Linked DNA regions of Homo sapiens: all the other regions are linked to region 2. The links are contacts of gene promoters, found by promoter capture Hi-C in blood cells and fetal thymus (Javierre and others, 2016). All regions are on one chromosome and are shown on one strand. The core of a region is centred on a gene start or on the middle of the fragment in contact, and the rest is flanking DNA. Distances in the headings are between cores, read along the strand shown.

Region 1 (2,700 bases), core at 13-2,512, 300 kb before region 2:
GTTGGAGCTGCCCCCTGGACCTCCTGTCCACAGCACACCCCTGCAACACACACACACATGCACATACATACATGTGCACATACCTGCACACATACACACACATGCTGTGCTTCATGCCCTCACTAAGGTGGCATGGGAGGGAATGAGTGTTTTTAAGAGAAATGAAGACAACTCAGGCTTCTTGTTCTCCTGGTGTTTGCACAAGTGCCTTCTCTGCAGACCATGCTTCAATCTCTTTCTTGGCTTTCCCTGTTAGTGAAAGAGACAAGCAGAGCCCCAGCATGTATCTGACTGCTTAGGGTCCAACCCAAGCTCACAAGCTTCCTGGGGAGCCTAGTGAGATGAAGGCACTGCAGAGCCTCCCAAAAAGAGGCATCAGCTTTTGGTGGAGACTTGAGCCCGGGAAGGTGGGACATCATGGTTCATCAAAGACACAACCAAAATCCAGTGAGGAATGGCAGCCATCAAAAGTTTTATTCTTCAAGAGAAGGAGTTCTCAGGGGCTGTGGGCAGCAGGCACAGAGCTCTTTAGTGCATGTGTGGGCAGGTGATGGTGACCTACAGTTTGCACTGGGAACTAAGATCAAGAGTGACCTGACCTCTGCTCATGCGCATCTCTCCCTGTCTCTCTCTCTACCTTTTATGTCTCTCTCCTTATCTCTCTCCCCACACTCCCTCTCAGCCTCCTCTGTCTCTGTCTCTCTCCCCATCTCTCTTTCTCTCTCTCACTCCTTTCTTCCCATGTCTCTTTCTCTCTCCTTCTCCACTTCTCTCTCCCTCCTCCTCTCCCTCTCTGCCACTGTTCAGGCTCCTGCCCACCCCTCCCTGCTGTGCAGAGAGGCACACGCAGGACTCCTAGGCTACCTTCCAGGGCACACGCACAAGGCTGCCGGGACTTGGTCCCAGTACAGTGCCCCCACCTCCCAGTGCCCTCAAGGTCAGGGGTGTGGGGTGTGCTTGTGCTCTCTTGGGTGGGCACCCCACTCTCCAGGAAGCAGAAGCTGCAGGTCACTGCTGGCTTGAGTGGCACGCCTATTGGACTGCTGGCTTCCATCCTGTGATCTGCCGAGGCCAAAACAGAGGACACCTGCCAAGGCCCCACCCTGCTCCAGGGTTGGGGTAGAGGTAGGGGTAGTGGTGGGGATGAGAGCAGCCACTGCAATCTGGTCCCTGCCCAGCATCCTGCCCTGCACCCTGCCATGCAAGGCCTCCTCTGCCACCCTTTCCCTGCCCCTCACCATCTTCACCCCTAGAAAGCCCCAGGCACAGGCTCCAGAAATCTCCCTGGATCCAGGAACTAAGAGCAACCACTGGGCTCCACAGCCCCTAGGCCAGGTGTCAGCCACACCCACTGCATGCTGACAAATCTTGGCTCTCACTTATGCCCCCCCGCAAGCCAGCCACACTCTGCCCCCACTCCCCCCACTTCCTGACTTTAGCCCTGACTGACAGTGCTGCCTCCTGGTAACCTTTCCCCCTCCCCACAAGGTCCAGGCAAGCCCAAATGCCAGCACCCGCCACCCACCCTTCCTGGGTGCCCCTCTATTGTCTGCTTGCCTAGATGTCTTAACCTCATTTTACCAAGCTAGAACAAATAACAGGGATGAGCCCCCAGCCTCTCCCAGGAAGATTTGGCAAAATGCTCTCCTTTTAGAAGCAGGAGCAGTGACAGGACCTAGGGATGACCCGAGGCTTGTCACCCAAGCAACAAGAAGGGCAAGGAGCCCAGTTTTATGACCTCACCTTGGGAGGACATGGCCAGGGCTCCACAAGGCCCTGTGGGGGGCTGGCAGGAGAACAGATCCACTCTCCTTTTGAGGAAGCAGGCCCCAACCCTAGGAAGCAGCAGATGGGGGCACACAGGCAGAGCTTCCGCAAGCTGTAGATCAGGGTCAGCAGATCTGCATTCAGCTTTAGCCCCAGGGGAGCTGCAAGACGTGAGACACTGATAGGTTTGGCTCTGTGTCCCCACCCAAATCTCATTTTGAGCTGTAATCCCCATGTGTCAAGGGAGGAACCTCATGGGAGGTGATTGTATTATAGGGGGCTGGGTTCCCCCATGCTGTTCCCCTGATAGTGAGTGAGTTCTCAGGAGAGCAGATGGTTTTAAAGCATGGCACTTCCTCGTTTTCTCACTCCCTCCTGCTGCCTTGTGAAGAAGATGCCCGCTTCCCCTTCGCCTTCCACCATGATTGCAAGCTTTCTGAACTGTGAGTCAATTCAACCTCTTTCCTTGATAAATTACCCAGTCTCAGGTATTTCTTCATAGCAGTGTGAAAACAAAACAAACTAAGACAGACCCCTTCTCTGAGGTGCCTTCTTCTGAGGCCACCAGCTGCCCCCATGCTCCTCCTCTGCCCCCTGGTCTTTCTTTTCCCCTCATGAGGCCCAAGTGATCTGCATGGCCAGCCCCAGCCCCATCCTACTGCAGGCCTGTCTAGCTGGTGGAGAGGCCGACCTCCTTTCCTGACCCTCAGGCTGGCTGATATGCTCTCTGGATCCTGGAGGAAACTGATTGTCTCTCCTCATACTGGTAGCAACTTCTTCCAAGACCACAAAGCTGGAAAACTGGTCTTTTTGTTGTCTCCGCTTGCTAGGGCTGTAGTTGGGACAGTACTAGAGGTGGGCCAATGGATGAATGGATGGATGAGTGGGACAGTAGTCCAGGGAGGATGTCCCTGTCTGTCCAGTTTGCATCGG
Region 2 (2,700 bases), core at 109-2,608:
ACAGCCGATCTAACACTCTGTAGTAAATCACATACTCCAGTATTAATATGTTAAAAACTATAATTTTATGCAGTTAAAAAATCTAAATCTATAGAATATCCTAAGATAAAAGATGAGACAAAGTCACAAGAAGGTTAACTTTTTTAGCACTTAAGATTTTCTTGAACTGTGCTTATTATGCTGTTAATAAATAAATAAAATCTCTAGGAATGGCTGTAGTAAACTGTGTTATTACTTACCCTAAGCTCTCCCTTCCTTCCTTTTACTCTCAAAAAAGTCCGTAAGAAAGGAAGCAAATTTTTACGGCTTGCTTTCACCATTGGAATTTCCTTAGAATGACTTTTTACATAAAAAAAGAAGAAAGGAAAGAAAGAAAGGAGAAAGAAGAAAAAGAAAGAAAGAAAGAAAGAAAGAAAGAAAGAAAGAAAGAAAGGAAGGAAGGAAGGAAGGAAGGAAGGAAGGAAGGAAGGAAAGAAAGAAAGAAAGGAAAGAAAGAAAGAAAGAGAAAGAAGGAAAGAAAGAAAGAAAGAAAGAAAGAAAGAAAGAAAGAAAGAAAGAAGAAAGGAGGGAAGGAAGGAAGGAAGGGAGAAAGACAGAGAGAAAGAGAGAAAGAATTGACTATAGTGTTTAAAGAGTTTAGTCTGGAATCAGAGGTTGTGGATTCAAATTTCAGATTCACTAGATACTAGTGTGAACTAGGGTAAGTTACTTCAACCTGTTGTGGCTCAGTTTTCTCACATGGTTGATGGGAGTGGCAGTGATACCTAGCCCATAGATTGCCGTGAAAATTCAGCAAATTGATACATGCGAAGTACTCAGAACTATTTAGGCACATAATCAGTGATGGGAAAATGTTATCAATAGCAATTAATGCAAATCTCCCAGGCCCAAGAAAGCATCCCTTTCTGGCCAGCTGAATATAGTCTTGCTTCACAGTCAAAGGGAAGATAAGAAAGTTAGAGAAGGAGCCACAGTTAAAATTGGAGGGAATTAAACTGTCATGTGAGACCCAATCACCCAGTTGTAAGGGTCAACACTGAGTAATATTGACAATCCTTAAAGGTGAGGCATCAGTCAATTATTCCTTGACCATGAGGAAATTTTAAGAAACATGAGGAGTTAGGGATCATATTCCTAATTAATGCCAATGACTTCTTGACCATGGTAAAGAAGCCTAATTGCAGACCAAATACAATCAACTTTCAAAGGCTCTCAGTAGGTTCAACAAATAATTCAGGGAGAGGCCAATTATCATTCAGAGACAAATTATCCAACACAAATAAGCAAGAGACTTCTGGAATTATGTAAACAGTAGCTGGCCCAGGCTTATAAAAGGCCCAATGTGGCAGCCATCACCAAAACTCAGAAACTCCTCCAAGCAACCCAGACTTCATACCAGCTCCCAACACCATGACCTGCTGCCAGACCAGCTTCTGTGGATATCCCAGCTGCTCCACCAGTGGGACATGCGGCTCCAGCTGCTGCCAGCCAAGCTGCTGTGAGACCAGCTGCTGCCAGCCAAGCTGCTGCCAGACCAGCTTCTGCGGATTTCCTAGCTTCTCAACTAGTGGGACCTGCAGCTCCAGTTGCTGCCAGCCAAGCTGCTGTGAGACCAGCTGCTGCCAGCCAAGCTGCTGCCAGACCAGCTCCTGCGGAACTGGCTGTGGCATTGGTGGTGGCATTGGCTATGGCCAGGAGGGCAGCAGTGGAGCTGTGAGCACCCGTATCAGGTGGTGCCGCCCAGACTGCCGTGTGGAGGGTACCTGCCTGCCCCCCTGCTGTGTGGTGAGCTGCACACCCCCAACCTGCTGCCAGCTGCACCACGCCGAGGCCTCCTGCTGCCGCCCATCCTACTGTGGACAGTCCTGCTGCCGCCCAGTCTGCTGCTGCTACTCCTGTGAGCCCACCTGCTAAAAGCCAGTTTGCTGATTTTCAACTTGAAATTTCCACTTTCAGTTCCATTCATGAACGAATTATTTCTTCAAGCACTTATGGACAACGAACAAATTCTTCAACCTTTCTTTGTCTTTCTTATGGGGGTTACCAAATATTTTGGCCTCAGAATTATCTGATTCCTTTCAATTCCAGAAAGACCTTACTCTTCTCTCTGAGGACGCCAAAATACAAATTTGACCCAAGAAATGAAAAAGCCGATTTACCTTGAAACTGAGCCTTTGCAAGCATTGAAGCCCACGCTCTGAGTCTCAGCGCCGACGAGACCATGGAAGAGCCATCTGTCCTTCTCAGGACACTCACTTCCTGTATCCCACCGTCCTGCAAATTGCACCCCCTATGAAAGAGGAATAATATACCAAGGTCTAATAAATTTTAACTATTGGTGCAACAAACATATCTTTTTTTTTTCATTGAGTGTACTCAGGATGTATATTTCATAGAATGTCATATGAAAAACTTTAATCTGCTTTTGATATCCCTTCTCTTCTAATACCACATTAGGAAATTTGTTATCCAGAGGTCCAGTGGAGGTTAATGACCATAAAAACATAGAGTAAGTGTAGTTATTTAGGGCCTCAGAAATGGCAAAGGCTCTGTTACCATAACTTAACCTTACACAGTGCTTTCACAACCAGGAAGTTACAGAAATCAAAATCTCTGGCTGGGTACGGTGGCTCACACCTGTAATCCCAGCATTTTGGGAGGCCAAGGTAGACAGATCACGAGGTCGGGAGTTTGAGATCA
Region 3 (2,700 bases), core at 112-2,611, 320 kb before region 2:
GTTTAATTTTGTTGTGACTATCTTTTGTGTACCTTACTCTGGATAAGCATATTGCTGTCGAGTAGGGTCACCATTGTTTGACCAATTGTTCTAAGTTGCTCCAAACAGATGGGATATAATCTATATCTGATGGGATATAATTATGTTTAAATTACTCCAAATTGTTGGTATATAATTGTATCATCAACTTAGAAATAATTGAAATCAGAGAGTTAACAAGAAACTGTACTATTGCTGAATTCTATCTTTATTTACACATTGACTCATAATTCTTCTTCAACACAGCATATCTATGGTTAACAAGATGTTTTTCTCACTGCCCTTGATTTCTGTCCTTAGGTAATAACAGATCAGATTGTTTGTGAAATTCTTCAACATTTCAGTAGAATGGTGATTGGGCTGATAATGCAGTGGGAATCAGAAGATCTGGGTCCTAGCTAGATGATACTAAGCAAGGCATTTCTCCATTCTGAGCCTCAGTTTCCCCTTCGTAAAACGAACGGTTTGGATGAGTTGACCATTAGGATCCCCAATATCTTGTTCCAAGATTTTCCCTCTCTCTTTTAACCATTTTCATATTTAGGATCTATGTTAGGAGGTAAGAGGGAGGAAGAGAAGAGCCAAATGCAAAGCCATCTGGTTTTTGGTCTGTAGCTGTAGCTGGGAGGCTTGGAAGCTGCTTGGATTGGTAGCTGTAGCTGGGAGGCTTGGAATCTGTTGTCTGCTTTATCCTCTGCTAGCAAGGACATAGGAAGCCCCTCCTCTTTCTGGCCAATGTATGCCTCCTCAGGCCCATACTTGAATTTTTTCCTCATTGCCTCTTTAGGATATCAAATAAGGCTCATCTTACATCTTGTGACAAAACAGAAGTGGTGTCATATGCACGGTCAGTTCAGATTACTCATGCTTCTTGGATAATTGTTCCTAAATAATAAACTATTACGAATCATCAAGTTCAAACAAGTCTGGCATCTGCGTAAAGCCCACTCCAATTATTGTATAAAAGTCTGTATTGGTAAGATCAAAGCTCCAAGCTTAATAATCAGATATATAAATTTATTGCAGCAGAACTTCTCTAAGTAATGAACATCTCAATTCTGTGTGTTTGAAGTCTTGGTTTACCGAAGTTCACTGTGGGCATTACTTTAAGAATGTGCACAGGCGCTGCGTACAGCAGGCATACCTGTGTGACCCTGGAAAGGTCCTGGTAAATTTCTGGTCAAGGCAGCCAATACCCTCTCCATGGTCCTGATCATGTGCGGCCCCTTTGCTGCACTTGGCACTTCTAACATCACCTCCTCTTGGAAGCACCCTCCTTCCTGCCCTTCTGGGATGCCATGAACTTGTTTTTATCATTTTTTTCTCACCATTTCTCCATTTATCACAGATTCTTTTTCCTTCTCCTGATCTCTGATTGGGAAATTCTCCAAAGTTTGGTCCTCAGCTCCTTGTTGCTCTTCTCTTTGTACTCTCCCTTGGCCCAGTTCTCTAACTCTCTCACTTGTACTAAACCTTATCTGTATCATCATCCCTGCCATAAATTCTAGTCTTGCATGGACTGTTGCAATAGTCTCTTTGCTGAACTCTTTGCCTCCAATCTTTCCTTCATTTTTCAAAAACAGATAAATATTTGCTAAAACATTTCCTAAAACACCTTTTGTCACACCACACTTAGGTTCAAAAGCTTATACTGGCTCTACAGCTTCTGGGGAAGTCCAAGCTGCTCCACTTCACCATCGAGACCCCCTACCATAGGGTCCCCATACAATCCCCCATAAAGCTTTAATTTCTAGCACTTCCCTTCACAACTCTCCCCTTCCTGCTGCCTAGACTTACCCTGGTCCTTCAACCATGCCTTGGGCTTTCCCACCCCATTCCTGTGTGCACATTATTCTCCTCACCTGCACTTCCTACTTTTCTCCCCTCTGCTTCTTAGAAGCCTCCCTATCCCAGCACAAATCCATTCATCCATTCCTAAGAGCCTCCAATCCTGGAGCTGCTCGCCCTCCCCAGTGTGTAAACCACTCAGTTATCACTTGTCAACTTCTGCCTCAGATTATTATTTCCTGTTCATCCCTTCATCACTCTACCCACACCCATTCAACAGTGCCTACCAGGTGCCTAGAGCTGGGGATTCAAAGACAAACTAGACCCTGCCCTTGCCTTCAGGGACCTCAAATAGAGACAGAGAGACAAGCACATAAGTCATGACAGTGTCATGCTCAAGGTAAAAAGAGAGCTTGGAGAGGAGAAAGGGACGGCCTGTCTGAAGAAGGGAAGGAAGTAAGCCATTTATATTTAAGCCAAGTGTTGTGATGAAAAGAAAAGTGATCTGCTTTGGAATCCTAGGTCCACAACTTATTATCCTCACCCTCTATGCCTTGGTGTTCTCATCTATAAAATGGGAATTATACAGTTTACCTTTAAGAGTTCTGGTGAGGAATAATGGACATCTAAGTTCTGCATGTTTGAGGATCATGTTTGTAAAAAGGATCTAGTTTGTGAAAAGTGTCCACACTACCTTGGGCTTGTGCAGTTTCTTAACAAGTAAGAACTTCTTCTGACCATAGCATTGAGTCCTATTTTCCACCCCTCCCAGTGTCTATTACATCGCCCTGGATGAAATTGTCATAGTGGATATCTATTATTTGGTTGATTGACGTCATCATGGACATGAAAAAAGCCCATCATATCAGGAAA

What was found. The method cuts DNA at HindIII sites, captures the fragments that hold promoters and counts their contacts. A CHiCAGO score of 5 or more calls a contact.
Region 1: a fragment that was not itself captured here is called in contact with the fragment with the promoter of KRTAP1-3 in region 2 in 1 of 17 cell types (naive B cells); the score reaches 7.3 in naive B cells.
Region 3: a contact is called between a fragment that was not itself captured here and the fragment with the promoter of KRTAP1-3 in region 2, in 1 of 17 cell types (total CD8 T cells). The highest score is 5.4, in total CD8 T cells.

Annotation. Positions count from the first base shown.
Region 1 is chr17:41,333,852-41,336,551 of GRCh38, reverse strand. No RefSeq gene overlaps it. Among named protein-coding and RNA genes, the nearest start is that of KRT33A, 16 kb to the left of the region's middle. The HindIII fragment of the contact is 1,879 bases long and covers 323-2,201 here.
Region 2 is chr17:41,033,532-41,036,231 of GRCh38, reverse strand. KRTAP1-3 (keratin associated protein 1-3) reads left to right here and starts at 1,358. Exons shown (of 1, transcript NM_030966.2): 1 at 1,358-2,348. The coding sequence starts at 1,411. The coding sequence ends at 1,914. The HindIII fragment of the contact is 12,344 bases long and covers 1-2,700 here.
Region 3 is chr17:41,351,325-41,354,024 of GRCh38, reverse strand. It overlaps LOC105371778 (a long non-coding RNA gene), which reads right to left and starts at 2,528. Exons shown (of 2, transcript XR_001753056.1): 1 at 2,422-2,528; 2 at 227-1,603. The HindIII fragment of the contact is 650 bases long and covers 1,037-1,686 here.